Regions from separate parts of the Homo sapiens genome. Here all the other regions are linked to region 3. Evidence: promoter capture Hi-C in 16 types of primary human blood cells and fetal thymus (Javierre and others, 2016). All regions are on one chromosome and are shown on one strand. The core of a region is centred on a gene start or on the middle of the fragment in contact, and the rest is flanking DNA. Distances in the headings are between cores, read along the strand shown.

Region 1 (4,638 bases), core at 1,793-4,292, 230 kb before region 3:
TAAGCAGGAGGCAGGTCTTGGAGGTCCCTATGTCTTACAGGACTTGTGGACGTTATCTCATAGATTACTTGGAACTACCAAAGAGCCTTAAATGGGAGTGTCTTAGATTTGTAACTTAAACTGAGCATGTGGCTGCAGCTGGAAGACAGATTGGAGTGGTCAAGATTGGAGACAGGGAGACTAATTAGGGTTTTATTTTGCAACAAACCTCATCCAGGTGATGGATGAGGATGGTGGAATAAGGATCGTGGTAGTGGGGAGAAAGAAACACACAGGTATGAGAACTCTCCAAAGGATAGAATGGGCAAAACGGAGTGATTGATTGGACTGAGGTTAGGTGAGGGAAGGGTTTCTGTGATGTTTCTTAGGTTTCTTGGAATGGATACTGTTGACAAAACAAACAAACAAACACACAAAGCATATATAGAGAAGACCCGTTGTGTGAGCCTTTTTAAATTGTTGCTTATTTCTTTTGTTGTCTGTAAGGAAGCTATGAGTTCAGTTTCGAACATGTTGCATTTATATTATTTATGGGACAACCAAGTAGAGATGTTCAGCTGGTGGTTGGATACTTGAGTCCAAGGTTTGGGGAGCATTCTGGGCTAGGGGTATAGAAATCATTAGGATACAGGCAAATAAATGATACAGAGGGATGGGTTCACCCCAGAATATCAGCACAGTAAGAAGGGTCATGGGGCAAGCACAGAGCTTTGGAAAGTGATGTCTGGAGTTAGAGATAGGACTCTAGGGTTTAGGACTCCAATGACTGAGTAGATGTTGACCTGATTATTTCAGGCAGGCACCTTTAGCTGCAGTAACTGGGACTCGTTCAATTTATCTCAAGAGAAGGGAGGTTTTGTGGAAGGGTCTGGATCAGACCCGGAGACCTCAGCAAATGAGGCAGGTCTGGGGGTATCCATCTCTCTCCAACCCTATTTATTTCTGTATATCCTCTTCATTTTCACAGTATTGACTTTATTATCTCTTCTCTAGGGCCAATTTCTCCAAAATTTGGAAGGTCTATAAACATCTTAAAACTGTAAGCAAATTGTTCATTTATGCATTTCTCTGCAAGGGGAGTCTGTAGCTTTTGTAAGATTCTCAGGGTAATCTAAGATACAAAAGAAGCCCAAAACCTCCTCCTTATCTCTGTCTGTCTCTCTCCAGAAAGAAAGAAGCCTTGGCTTGCCTCAGCCCCACCTTAACCCCACAATATCCATTCACTTCCCGATCACTTGCAAATTACAAAATTCTTTTTATTTTCCTAGTTCAGATTTTAAAATTAGAGGATATGATTGATCCAGTTTTTTTACATTAGGCCAAAGTTAATAGGATTATTGCTGTGGAGTCAGGGTTAGCTAGCAAGGGGGTGTGATGACAGAATATAAACCCAGGCTGCCTGAGAAGGAGGTTAGGTAAAGAAGCTTCCCTTGGAAGGGATGCGGTGCAGACAGGATGGAAGGTAAAGGCTTGGCCTACGCAGCATGCCCGTTACCATTAAAGAGGAGTAGATTGTGTATCCCACATATTGTGTGAGATGATCAATAGCTGGCTGGTTGCAATTACCCAAAGAGATTGGATTACAGGATTGATATTAAACTGGAAGATATCTAATGGAATGCTACAGATTTTGTAGAAGATCCCAACCTTATCTTTTCAACATTTATGTTAATTAAAGTTTATCAAACATGAATATCAAATTTGAAGCTGGGGGTGACATAATATATTGGAAGACAGAGCTGAGTCTCAAAACGATCTTGGCAAGTTGGAACAAGAGATCAAAACAAACAAGATTAAATTTAGTGGGGCTGAATATAAAATATTGTATTTAGAATTATTAAATTCAAACACACAACTACCACATCAGGAAGAAGTGGCCAATTATATGTTCATATATAGCTTTAAATAATCTCTAACCAATTTGATCCCAAAGAATAAGGCAATTGCTGAAGAAAAAGAAGAAAAAAAAGAAAGAAGACAGAGAGAAGAAGCAGAAGCAGGAGGAAAAGGAGGAGGAATAGGAAGAAGGAAGAGGAAGAAGGAAGGAGGAGGAGGAAGAAGAAGAAGGAGGAGGAGGAAGAGGAGGAGGAGGAGGAAGAGGAGAAGGGGGAGGAGGAGGGGGAATGTCCTGTATTAATAAATGTTTAAATGCCCAGATCCAAGTGTGGTGCTCCATTATTCATTGCTCAGAGGGCATCTGCATTCAGTGTCTAGCTGCTGGGGCCCTATTTGGAAAGATCCAGTAAACACAATATACTCTGCTCCTTAAGACAGCCTGCCTGGGCTGGGCACGGTGGCTTATGCCTGTAATCCCAGCACTTTGGTAGGCCAAGGTGGGTAGATCTGAGGTCAGGAGTTTGAGACCAGCCTGACCAACAGGGAGAAACCCCGTCTCTACTAAAAATACAAAACTAGCCAGGCATGGTGGTGCATGCCTGTAATCCCAGCTACTTGGAAGGCTGAGGCAGGAGAATTGCTTGAACCCGGGAGGCGGAGGTTGTGGTGAGCCAAGATCATGCCATTGCACTCCAGCCTGGGCAACAAGAGCAAAACTCCTTTTCAAAAAAAAGGAAGGAGGGAAGGAAGGAAGGAAGGAAGGAAGGAAGGAAGGAAGGAAGGAAGGAAGGAAGGAAGGGAAAGAAAAAGATAGCCTGCCTGGCTTCGACTTGGATTTCCTCCTAAGTTATTTTCTCTTAAATTACTTGCTCATGCTCTATTTGTTCCAGTCCATAGGCACATGATGCCCTTCTCCTGTGCCTGCTGAAGTCCTAGCATCTCCCCTCCAGGGACTGCAGTGAGCTCACACAACCCTGGACTCAAACTCTTGTCATCATGATCTTGCAATGATGCCCACTCCACGCCTTGAAACAGACTCCCAGAAGTGCCAGTGAGCAAACGTGAGGATGGGTTGTTTAGTCTTCATGGTGGCAACAACAGAAGAAACTGAGGTACAGAGTCATATCTCAAAGTAAGTGACCAGCACAGTTAGGATTCAGACTCCACATATTTGACCCCAAAGGCATGGCCACCCCTCATCCACTTTTTTCAGCTCCCCTTTGAGCTATGGCAACACAAAATCCAAGAAATCGATTTTTGAATAGTCTGTTTTGACTCTTTGGAATCCTCCCTTCTCCTTTCTTATCCTTCAGGCTGTCAGTCCCCATCTGCTCTGCCCCCAAGACCCCAGCATCTCCCCCTACTTCCCCCCTTCCCTCATACAGAGTCAACATTGTGACTGACACTTTTGTTTGCATGAACCCTCGCTTGAGTAGATAACCTCTGCTCAAAGAACACCTTGAGATGCAGATAGTTTTGGTCACAGTTTGGAAAGAGCAGGGGGTTGTGCCCCCAATGGTTTGGCTTACCAAGCAAACTTGCCACATAAATCTGAGTAACCCACACATCATCAGTGATATCAACATGCTCCCAAACCTAGCTGTGGAGGTCCAAAGATTGGCACATTTCCTTCCACATGGGATGAAATTGAGCCACGTCAGAAATTAGGTTAACTGCATGCATGAGAGCTGTGCAACAAATCAGATAAAATCCTCCAGGGTCCCAGGCTTGTGAAGGAGGGCCTCAGATGGAAGAAGAAACCACAGCTGTGTCCATGTTCAATGTCCTGGTGTTGATTGTGTAGGGGTAGTAAGAGTCAGAAGGGAGGCCAAGGTCATGGGCAACGAGGCAGTCAGGTGGAGCTGGCACAGCCATGGGAGGAGCATGAACCGAATAGACAAAGTGTACCATCCAACAGAGCATAATGCTCATGCTGGGCAAATGAGATACCACCAGGGAGGACCAGCCCTTCCCCTGACAGCAAAACGATAGGGTAGGAACACCTGGTCCCAAGCAGAGATTCGGTCAGGCCTGGGTTCTATGGGGCCCATGGGCCAGGAGGCTGGCCTCATTGGGCAGAGCATGCAAACCCTGCATAGTCCTGTTTCCTTTCCTCCAACCTACCAGCCAGGCCAAGTGTACATTTTCAGGCTAATGATCTATGAGGCTGCCAAACTAAACTTCATTTTCTGTTTGAAAGATTTTTCCAGTTTGGGGCCAGGCGCAAGGCTTGGCAATTTTACCCAGAGTTCTCCTTACACATGCAGTAATAACAATTAACCAAAAGCAACTGTGTGCCTTAGGGTATCCAAGCCCCTAGAATGTGCAAATGAGTCCCAAGGCAAGCGGGGAGTCAGGCGGGGGCACATCTGCTCATTTTCCTTTCCAAAATCATTGCAGTGCTAAGATCCCTTCCCCGCTTGCCAGGAAAGCGCTGCCCGGTGACTTGTTGCTGCCAGCAGTGGCTGCACATGGCCCCCTAAGTAGCAATTTAGGGCGATGTCCCATTTGCCAAAGAACAGTTACATACATTGACTAGTAGTACAGTTCAGACTTCTGTGGTTTGTGTGTACTTAAATAAAAATTACAGTCCACTCTTGGAAAGCATAATGAAAACTTGGTCTTTTTTAAGGATTCTAAGCTATTTAATTGGTCCAAATAACATCTGTCCCTGAACCTTACACCATTACCTACCAAGTCACGGAGGAGATGCAGGTAATGTGGTTACTGCCTCCACAAGAGGGTGACATCACTCACGCCTTGTTAAGTGGGTCCTTCTGTTCTCTAGTGTCAATCCCTGGT
Region 2 (4,395 bases), core at 1,400-3,899, 140 kb before region 3:
AATAGAGTGAAAACAGAGCTCCCATACAAAGGGAGGGGACCCAAAGCGGGTTGCCGTTGCCAGCTCCAATGCCTGGGTTTATATCTTGATCACTGTCCCCCCACCTCCGTGCTCAGGCGATAGATGATTGGCTATTTCTTTACCTCCTGTTTTTGTCTAACTAGCATTTTAGTGAGCTCTCTTTACTACCTGATTGGTCAGGTGTGAGCTAAGTTGCAAGCCCTGTGTTTAAAGGTGGATGCGGTCACCTTCCCAGCTAGGCTTAGGGATTCTTAGTCAGCCTAGGAAATCCAGCTAGTCCTGTCTCTCACCAGCATCGTAATCTTGGACTTCTAGCCTCTAGATCTATAAGAAATCATTGTCTGTTGCTTAAGCCGCCCAGTCTGTGGGCAGCTTGTTTGTTATAGTAGCCAAGATGACTAAGACACATAATATCACATATTTTTAAAGAATGTGGTTACTTCGCTTGCCCATAATTGGTTTCCTTTACAATCCCATGTATTTCCTTTTATGCATTTGAAACCATTATTTTAAGAATAGGTCTATAGACTTCTCCAGTGACGTCCAAGCACAAGAAAGATCACAAAACAGACTCTCCTTCCTTTCCTCCATCTGGGCCACATCTTCACTTAACAAGAACAGCTTCCTTACACCTCCCAGATTGAGGAATGGTGGGTGAGAACACGGTATAATAAAGCTTGTTTTATGGTCTCTGCCCTTGTAGATCAGGGTCTCCACTCACAGACTTTGCCCTCTAACCTCAGCCACTATCTGACAAGCATCTGCTGGTTGGCGGAGAGGATGTGCACAGATGGGTGTATACCCAACGCTGCTCCCAGGAATGAATCCCAAAGCCACCAGATCTTACCAAGGGTGACCTTCACACAGAACAGCACATGGACACACCCCCCCCCAGGACTGTGGGTGGAGCAGTTGGAAGGCCACCACTAATTGTGGAGTTATGTTAAGGCTTACGCTGATTCTGTGTTATGATTTCATTTTGGAATAAAAAACCAGAGCCCTGTATTCCATCTTGCCAGAACTGCTTGCTAGTGATTTGAACTCAAGAAATCTGGTACAGGCAGGGTGTGGTGGCTCACGCCTGTAATCCCAGCACTTTGGGAGGCCAAGGCAAGTGGATCACCTGAGGTCAGGAGTTCAAGACCAGCCTGGCCAACACGGCGAAACCCTGTCTCTACTAAAAATACAAACGATTAGCCTGGCATGGTGGCGGGCGCCTGTCATCCCAGCTACTTGGGAGGCTGAGGCAGGAGAATCGCTTGAACCTGGGAAGCAGAGGTTGCAGTGAGCTGAGATCACACCACTGCATTCCAGCCTGGGAGACAGAGCAAGACTCTGTCTCAAAAAAAGAAAAAAAAAAAGAAATCCGTTACAGCTTTGAGCTTCAGTTTCCTCATCTTTCAAATGATGGCTACAACTGCAAAGGTTTATTTTTCAAAACATGTTCTCTCCCTGTCTCTCTCTCTCAAATTCCTTCTTCCTTATTTTGACAGCTACTACATTTGAGCTTTTTAATTTGAATATTATTGGATGGTAACCCACTTACAGAGATAGGAAGTTGGACGTCTTGAAGAAAGGAATTTCATCTTAAAGTCCATTATATTTTTAATCTAAACTGCTTGGACTAAAACAGCTTGCTTTAGGACAGGGCTGGGCGTGACTTTTTATTTTGCTTTGTTCTCAGTTTTGCTTTATCTAGAATCTGTGTTTCAATATATCAGCTCTAGGTGGCAGTAATGTACCATGAAGATGTGTGCTTTACCAGGTAGCAGGCTGCCAAGTTTCAAGTCTTGAGGCTTGAGGTGGAAGAGAACCTTAAGGAAAATTTTAATGGGATTACTGGGTGCCAGCGCTATCTAGACACTCTGTGAGCAGGTCAACTCACGACTGTTGTCCCCTGTGACTACCTTGGAGGAAGGAAGGAAAGCTACAGGCTCATGAATACATTACATGAAGGATGCAATGAAATATTTTATGGTATAGGGATTTTTCCAAACCTGTGCTCTACATATACTCTGTCTCTGTCTCTCTCTGTCTCTCTCTCTCTCTCTCTCTCACACACACACACACACACACACACACACACACACACACATTGAGATAAGAGAAGCTACTTCTTCAAAACAAGGTTTGTTTATATAATCAACTCATGACCCCTCTCCTCTTCTTTTTTCCTTTCCTAACTCTAAAAAAAAAATAATTTTACTATCCATTTGTCTCTAAGGTGAATGAGCTAAGACACAGTAGTAATGTATAGTACTACAGTAGTCACATATAGTAAGCATATGTGTATATACTGAAGAACGTGAGCCTGAGGGGAGAGCACATTTGAGGGACAGTGTATTGTTCATTATTCATTCCTTTGGATTTCTTTTTTGTTTTGTTTCCGTTTGTTTTGTTTTTTTTCTTTTTTGAGGCTGAGTCTCACTGTATTGCCCAGGCTGGAGTGCAGTGGTGCAATCTTGGCTCACTGCAACCTCCACCTCCCAGGTTCAAGCTATTCTCCTGCCTCAGCCTCCCGAGTAGCTGGGATTACAGGCACGCACCACCATGCCTGGCTAACTTTTGTATTTTTAGTAGAGAAGGGGTTTTACCATTTTGGCCAGGCTGGTCTCGAACTCCCGACCTCAAGTGATCCACCCGCCAAGACCTGCCAAAGTGCTGGGATTACTGGTGTGAGCCACCGCACCCGGCCTTGTCTGGATTTCTTTACAAGAGTTTACGTAGCCATTTCCTCATCTGTAAAATGAGACTAATAGTTCCACCTTCGTATGGTTGTGATGAGGATTAAAGTGGTCCACAGATATACAGGTGATGAGCTGCCTGATGCATACACAGGAAGCTGCATGTGGACGCTAGCTGTGACTACTGTCACTATTACCCAAGGCTCTTTGCTTTTTCAAGTTTTTGTTTAAAGTTTTTTGGAGAGACGAGGTCTCACTATGTTGCCCAGGCTAGTCTCTAACTCCTGAGCTCAAGTGAACCTCCTGCCTCAGCCTCCCCAAAGCCCTTTGCTTTTTATCTGAAGGAGTAGAGAGGCGATCTGGGCACAGCCACCTAGGGAGAAATGAAAAGGAATACAGAGAAACACACCACACATACCCACCCCCCCCCACACACACAAATACACACACACACAGACAGAGATACACACACACACACAGAGACAGACATAGATACATACACACAGGGACACAGAAACACACAGATATACACACAGAGGGACACAGAGACAGACACAGATACACACACACAGGGACACACATGCATGCACACACACAGCCTGTACAGAATATAGGGAGATGTGAAACCCCATCCATAAGGCTGCTAAAGGCAGCTAAAAGGGGGAAGATGAAAGTGTAAAGGAGGTGTGGTAAGGTCTTGGCTAATTTACCTTGTTAGGATGGATGAATAGTAAAACTGGTTTTTTAGGGTTAAGAAAGATAAAGGGAGAGAGATGATCATGAGCTGATCATAGGAAAAAACTCTGTTTTGGGAAAGCAACTTCTCTTTTTTCAGTATCTGGGGTTCTTGGGATATGTGTAGTAGTGCATGACAGCACAGCCGAACACACTGAGAGTGGCCTTTCTTTATAGGAACGGAGGCACTGTCCCACGCTGCGACTCTGTCGTGAGTGAAGATGGGTGGTGTGGAATCAGAACAGATTTGCTCTGCCAGAGACCCTTGTGTAGTCCTCCAGTATTCCTTTGGGGTCATGTGTTGATTTATGTCTCTGACTTTGAGACAAATACATGAAAATCCAAACTTAAAAATCAAAAGTGAGTGAGAGACTCTTCAAGTAGGAAGAAAATTCTACACTTTACAAAATAATTCACTACTGTACTCCCTTAAATCACTGATGGAGGATATGATTACATTTCCGTAACACCTCACAGAACTGTAGTAAGGGGCCATTGTATCCAAGATCTTTTCTTTCAAGTGGATTCCTTAGAAAGCAAAAAGGTTTACAAAAAGAATTATTCCCATGAAGATTAGTCAGTTGATATGATCCATGCAGATACTGTCTCGGAAGCAAATGTTCATGTAGCTGGTAAATTTCTGACATGATGGGAAAGGTTTCTGGGTGTCCTTCAATTATCTTCTCTCTTCTCTTCCCATTCTTTATTTATTTATTTATTTTTGAGAATGAGTATTCCTCTGTCATCCAGGCTGGAGTGCAGTGGCATGATCTTGGTTCACTGCAACTTCTGCTTCCTGGGTTCAAGCAATTCTCCTGCCTTAGCCTCCCCAGTAGCTGGGATTACAGGCATGTGCCACCACACTCGGCTAATTTTGTATTTTTAATAGAGACAGGGTTTCACCATGTTGGCCAGGCTGCTCTTGAACTCCTGACATCAGGTGATCCTCCTGCCT
Region 3 (4,957 bases), core at 785-3,284:
CTAAATTCACCATGGATATCTCCGTTCTTCAGCACTCAGATTAAGGGCCACAACATAAATGTTTAGGCTAGAACTCACAGTGTGGGTTTCATCTGGCAGAAAGCACGGACCAAGTCCTTGAACTTGAATACTGGTTTTGCTAACAAAGATCTGAATAAAGCTGTTCTGTTGGTCCCTCAGGAAAAAAAAAAAAACACACACACACACACAAACACACAAAATAATTTATTTTTAGTACAAAACATAAAACTACATTCTCTGTCTATATAATGTGCCTAGGCTTCAATATCCTATTTGCTGTTCATGCTTAAGTGAGAAAATACTTTTCTCTCCCGTTTATCTTCTCAAAACAGATCTACTTCGTTTTAATCAATGTACGATTTTATTACCGTCATGAAAGAGTATTTAGCAGAGCATCTGTGAATCTTCCACAGGTAAAATTCAGTTTAAAAACAAGCCCAATTGTGAAATAACCTGCAAACTGTTAATTGCAACTTCAATCCTTTAGTTTCCAATACAATCTTCTAATGAAGTGGCATTACTTGAAGTTGCTGGCAAATATGAACAGACTGAGAAACCTAGTAATCAGCAGGCTAACAGGTGTTGAAATCCCAAAAGAGGGAAGAGGAATATTAAATAATCACTCTTTGCCTGACACCTCAAGTAGCTGTAATATGCAGAATTCCAATCAACTTAACTGCAATTCAAAATGATCAGTGGTACTGTTTTCATTAATTACTCTCTAGCAAAAATATAATTTCTTGCATTCCATATAGTTCTTTAAATGACCTATTCCAACTTATACATTATTTTACTAAGTTGGATATACAATTTTATATGTTAGATTATTTTCCAGTTATCAATATGACATCTCATATTGTTTAAATATGATTTAAAACAAATCTTATTAACATATATACAATTTCCTTCTGAATTGATCAACTGTATTTCTGAAAATGTATCTGTTTTCTTTCATATTACTACATGTAAGATGATGTCTAAGTACCAAAAAAAAAAGTCTTCACAGTCACAATTTAAATCTGTGCTTCGCGTCTGCAACAAACTATCACGAAATGATTGCAAGGGTTGGGGCCACTGAGAAAGGTACCTATAACCTATCCAGTGCCCCAGTGGCAACCGCATCGTGGTCCTCATCATCCCACTCATAAACACCGATGCAAACACCGCCCAGCTACCTGCCTCCAGAGGTGCTTTGGATTGCCTCCCTACACATAAAAACAAAAGGCACTTTCCAGTTCCTTACAGCATGAACACAATACCTTCTAGAAACAAAAGCAATGACCTCGGTGCCAAGTATCTCCTTGACAAAGTATCGGTACTGCTCTACATTCTGGTCTTGCTAGTCGGGGAAAGCCGGGCTACCCTTACCATCCAGTTATAGGTGCAACTGCACCTTCCAAAGAAAAAAAGGTCTTTCGATTCAATATCCAAACGAACTTCAGAAGCCTCCTCAAAATGCTTCAGCCACAGGCATAAAAATGGGCTCACTTTTCAGAGATTCGTAAAAATCTTTCGCTTGTCCCTCTTACTACCCTCCCAACCCCTCCTCAAAGAGAATGCCATGAAACATGAAAGTCCAAAGGTAAATACTTTCATACCTTTTTTTCCCCCAAAAGCCTCGATGGCACGCCAAGAAGGAAAATAACAACAACAACAGAGGGGCAGCTCCCTGAGCAGGTGCAGCCCGCGCGGGCGCTCCGCAGCCGCCCTCCGCCGCACAGCCCCTCAAGTTGGTGCCAGGACGGCGGCCCCCGTGGTGCCCGGAGGGAGACTCCGCGCGCGGGCCCCGGCGCCGCTCGGCCCGAAGTTTGCCGCCCCCTCTCCTCGGCGCGCTTGGGCGGCCCGGCGCCGTCCAGGACTGCGGGGCTGGCTGCTGCCCCAGCGTTGGGGAGGCCCGGCGTCCCGCCGACCCCTCCCCGGCCGCGGGCGCGATCGCCTTACCTGGCCGGCGGCGGCCCAGGGCCCGGGAGCCGCTCCGGCTGCGGCGGCGCCTGGGAGGGGAGGGAGGTTCCCGTGGAGGAGGAGCTCGCGCGAGGAGCTAGCGGGCTGGCGGGCGGGCGGCTTTGTCTCTACGGCGCTGAGCCGCCGACCCTGCGTCACCATGGCAACCGCCGGGGCCCCCCCGGCCCTTCCCCTCAGCAGTCCGGGTATTCGGAGAGGACAAGGACCCCCGATGGGCCGCCACCACCACAAACACGCCCCTCTCTCAGTCTCCCTCACAAACCGCCTGTTTCTCCCCAGCGAGAGGGGAAGGCTAAAGCGGAGCGAGCCCAGGGCCAAGTGGTATTCGCATCCTAGTAGGCACTCCTTTGCTTCCCCACACTGGACATTCCAACTCCCGTCGCACCACCATCCCCCCCACAGACACCCTCCACCACTACCACCACCACACCTTTCTCCTGTGGAGCTGTACCCTCAAAATGGAAATTCACTTAAGGGAGGAGAAAGAGCAATGCAAAGTGATAAAGTGTTGAGCAACTGGTACTCGGTTCTCCTGTTGCAACTGCCGCAGCATGCACGGAGCTGCCAAGGGACGCCGTGCCGCCTCCTCCCTCTCCCCCTCCTCCTCCTCTCTCTTTTAGCAAGCTTTGCCTCTGCTGGATGTGGTCTCACTCCACCCAACCCGTGTATCTGTCTTGTTGAGGGCTCCCGTAGGAGAGAGGGGAAAGGGGGCTTTATCTCTGATGTAAACACTGGATACACTTGTAACCTCAGAAGCTGAAACACAACTTTCAGGCTGCAGTATGGATCTCAGCTGCTGCCACACTGCGCAGCTACTGGCTGTGACCGCTAAGCATCTACCATGAGCCCTGAGTGACTCTGTGCCAAGGACTGGTCACGTACTGCAGGCCATGGCACTCAGGAGCAGAGAAAAGAAAGCTAACTTTTTCCTCTCCTGAGGAAATTCTTAGAGAGGGAGAGAAAAGTACCAGCAGACCCTTGGTCATGCTTCCTCTAAAGGACGAACTAGAGGGCAGCCTCCATGGGGGGAGTGAGTCATCCCTCCATACTGTTTTCTTGAAAGATCCGTTGCTGAATCCAAAAGCTACAGTGTCTTTCTTCAAACCCTGGGGAACATGACATTTATTTTTTGGCATTTGTGAATCACCAAAGGAATGTCAATGATTTATAATAAAATCCACGGTAGCTGATGTTTTCTGGGTTTACTACTTGAGAAGCCACAAAGCAGAACAATGTTATTGCCATTTGAAGGTACACCTATATTAACTAATGAAAAGATAAGATCTATTTCATGGTGGAAAAGGAAAACAGTTTGTTCCTCGGAGAGACTGGCCACTTTCTTGTAATGGGAATATTCTGAATGAAGTCAATAATATTCCAGATGAAGTCAAAAGACAAGGTCTTTTTGGCAGGCCATTAAGCATTTGGCAATACCTGCCAGAATTCAAAATGCACATACATTTCTCCCAGCTATCTCAATTCTAGAGATCTGTCATACAGAAACACACAAATGTGTAATGATAGATATAAAAGGATATGCATTGCAGAAGTTTTGTAATAGTAAATGTTTGAAACAACTTATATGCCCATCAATAGTGATATGGTTAAATAATGTGGCACTTCATACCATGTAATACTATGCATCCATTAATAAGAATAAAATATATAAAATTCATAGATATTGATTTCTTATTAAATGGAAAAGGGGGGCTCAGAACCGTATGTGTGGGTGATCCCATTCTGTACAAAAAAACTGGATATATAGGAACAGAACAAAAACATAGGGATAAAGGTCTATAAGAATGCCTACCTAATTGCTAGAAGTGGTAACCTGTTAACTACAAAAAAAATTGAAGGGACAGTTACCTCTTACGATGTACAATTTAGTACACATATTTGGTTTGTTTGGCTTTTTCAAATGAGCATTTATTAGTAATTTATCAATGAAGAAGCAAAAACAAAAAGCTTTAATAAATGTTTGTTGACCTGCATGCACATTACTGCCTGATCAAAAACTGAATACAGAACAGGGAGGGACCATTGACTTGGCCATCCCTGCCCTCAGCTGAAGGCTTGGAAAAGTCCACGTTGTGTCCCCACTTAGAGCATTGCTTAGTGACCTGGTCCTGCGTTATTCTGTGAGACATTCTTCCAGACATTCATTTTTCCAAAAGAGGTTTAGCTTTATCTTAAGGTCTGCTTCCATTCTGCCTCTTGGAGAAAATTAAAAGACTTGTCAGGAAACCATCTTAAAATGTGCCACCTTACTTACCAGGGGATATCATTTGAATAGGTTAAGTGGCAGCTTTTAGTCTGTTTAGCTAAACTGAAACTGAAGATACTAAAGCTTAAAAATTAATGTGTGGATACATGACTAGTCTTTCTTATTCTCACCATTTTTGAAATGAGGTTAAAATAATGAATTTGCTTTCCTAAAAAGATCTAGAGCTGCACAGTCTAATTCAGTAACTGCTAGCCACATATGAATTAGCTACTGAATTGGTATGTTCAGTAAGTGCAAAATACACACCAGATTTCAAAGACTTGGAACAATAACTTTAAAAAAATAATATCTTATTAATAATGTTTATATTGGTTACATGTTAAAATATATTTTGAATTTATTGAGTTAAATAAAAGATGTTATTAAAATCATTAACTTTTGTTCCTTTCCACTTTTTTAACATGATTATTAGAAAATTATAAATTATATATGTGACATTTTGGACAGCTCTGTTTTAGAATTAGTGTTTATAGCAAAATATCATTAAGAAATCTAAAGTTAGCTATTCTTCTTAACTTTTAGTTAAAATGTAATTACCTTATTAATGCTCCCCAACTCATAAAGATGCCACAGTATGGCAATTTCTGTTAAATAATTTCAACTTATTAGAATCCTATTATATGCAAGCATTAGCTTATGCTTTTATATTTTAGAAAGATTTTAGCACAGACACTAAAGTCAGATTACCTG

What was found. The method cuts DNA at HindIII sites, captures the fragments that hold promoters and counts their contacts. A CHiCAGO score of 5 or more calls a contact.
Region 1: a contact is called between a fragment that was not itself captured here and the fragment with the promoter of RNF182 in region 3, in 2 of 17 cell types (total B cells and naive B cells). The highest score is 5.5, in total B cells.
Region 2: a fragment that was not itself captured here is called in contact with the fragment with the promoter of RNF182 in region 3 in 2 of 17 cell types (endothelial precursors and total B cells); the score reaches 7.4 in endothelial precursors.

Annotation. Positions count from the first base shown.
Region 1 is chr6:14,149,489-14,154,126 of GRCh38, reverse strand. No RefSeq gene overlaps it. Among named protein-coding and RNA genes, the nearest start is that of CD83, 34 kb to the right of the region's middle. The HindIII fragment of the contact is 3,231 bases long and covers 1,427-4,638 here.
Region 2 is chr6:14,064,350-14,068,744 of GRCh38, reverse strand. No RefSeq gene overlaps it. Among named protein-coding and RNA genes, the nearest start is that of CD83, 51 kb to the left of the region's middle. The HindIII fragment of the contact is 3,900 bases long and covers 700-4,395 here.
Region 3 is chr6:13,922,029-13,926,985 of GRCh38, reverse strand. RNF182 (ring finger protein 182) reads right to left here and starts at 2,034. Exons shown (of 3, transcript NM_152737.4): 1 at 1,963-2,034. RefSeq lists an enhancer at 2,639-3,139. The HindIII fragment of the contact is 2,801 bases long and covers 1-2,609 here.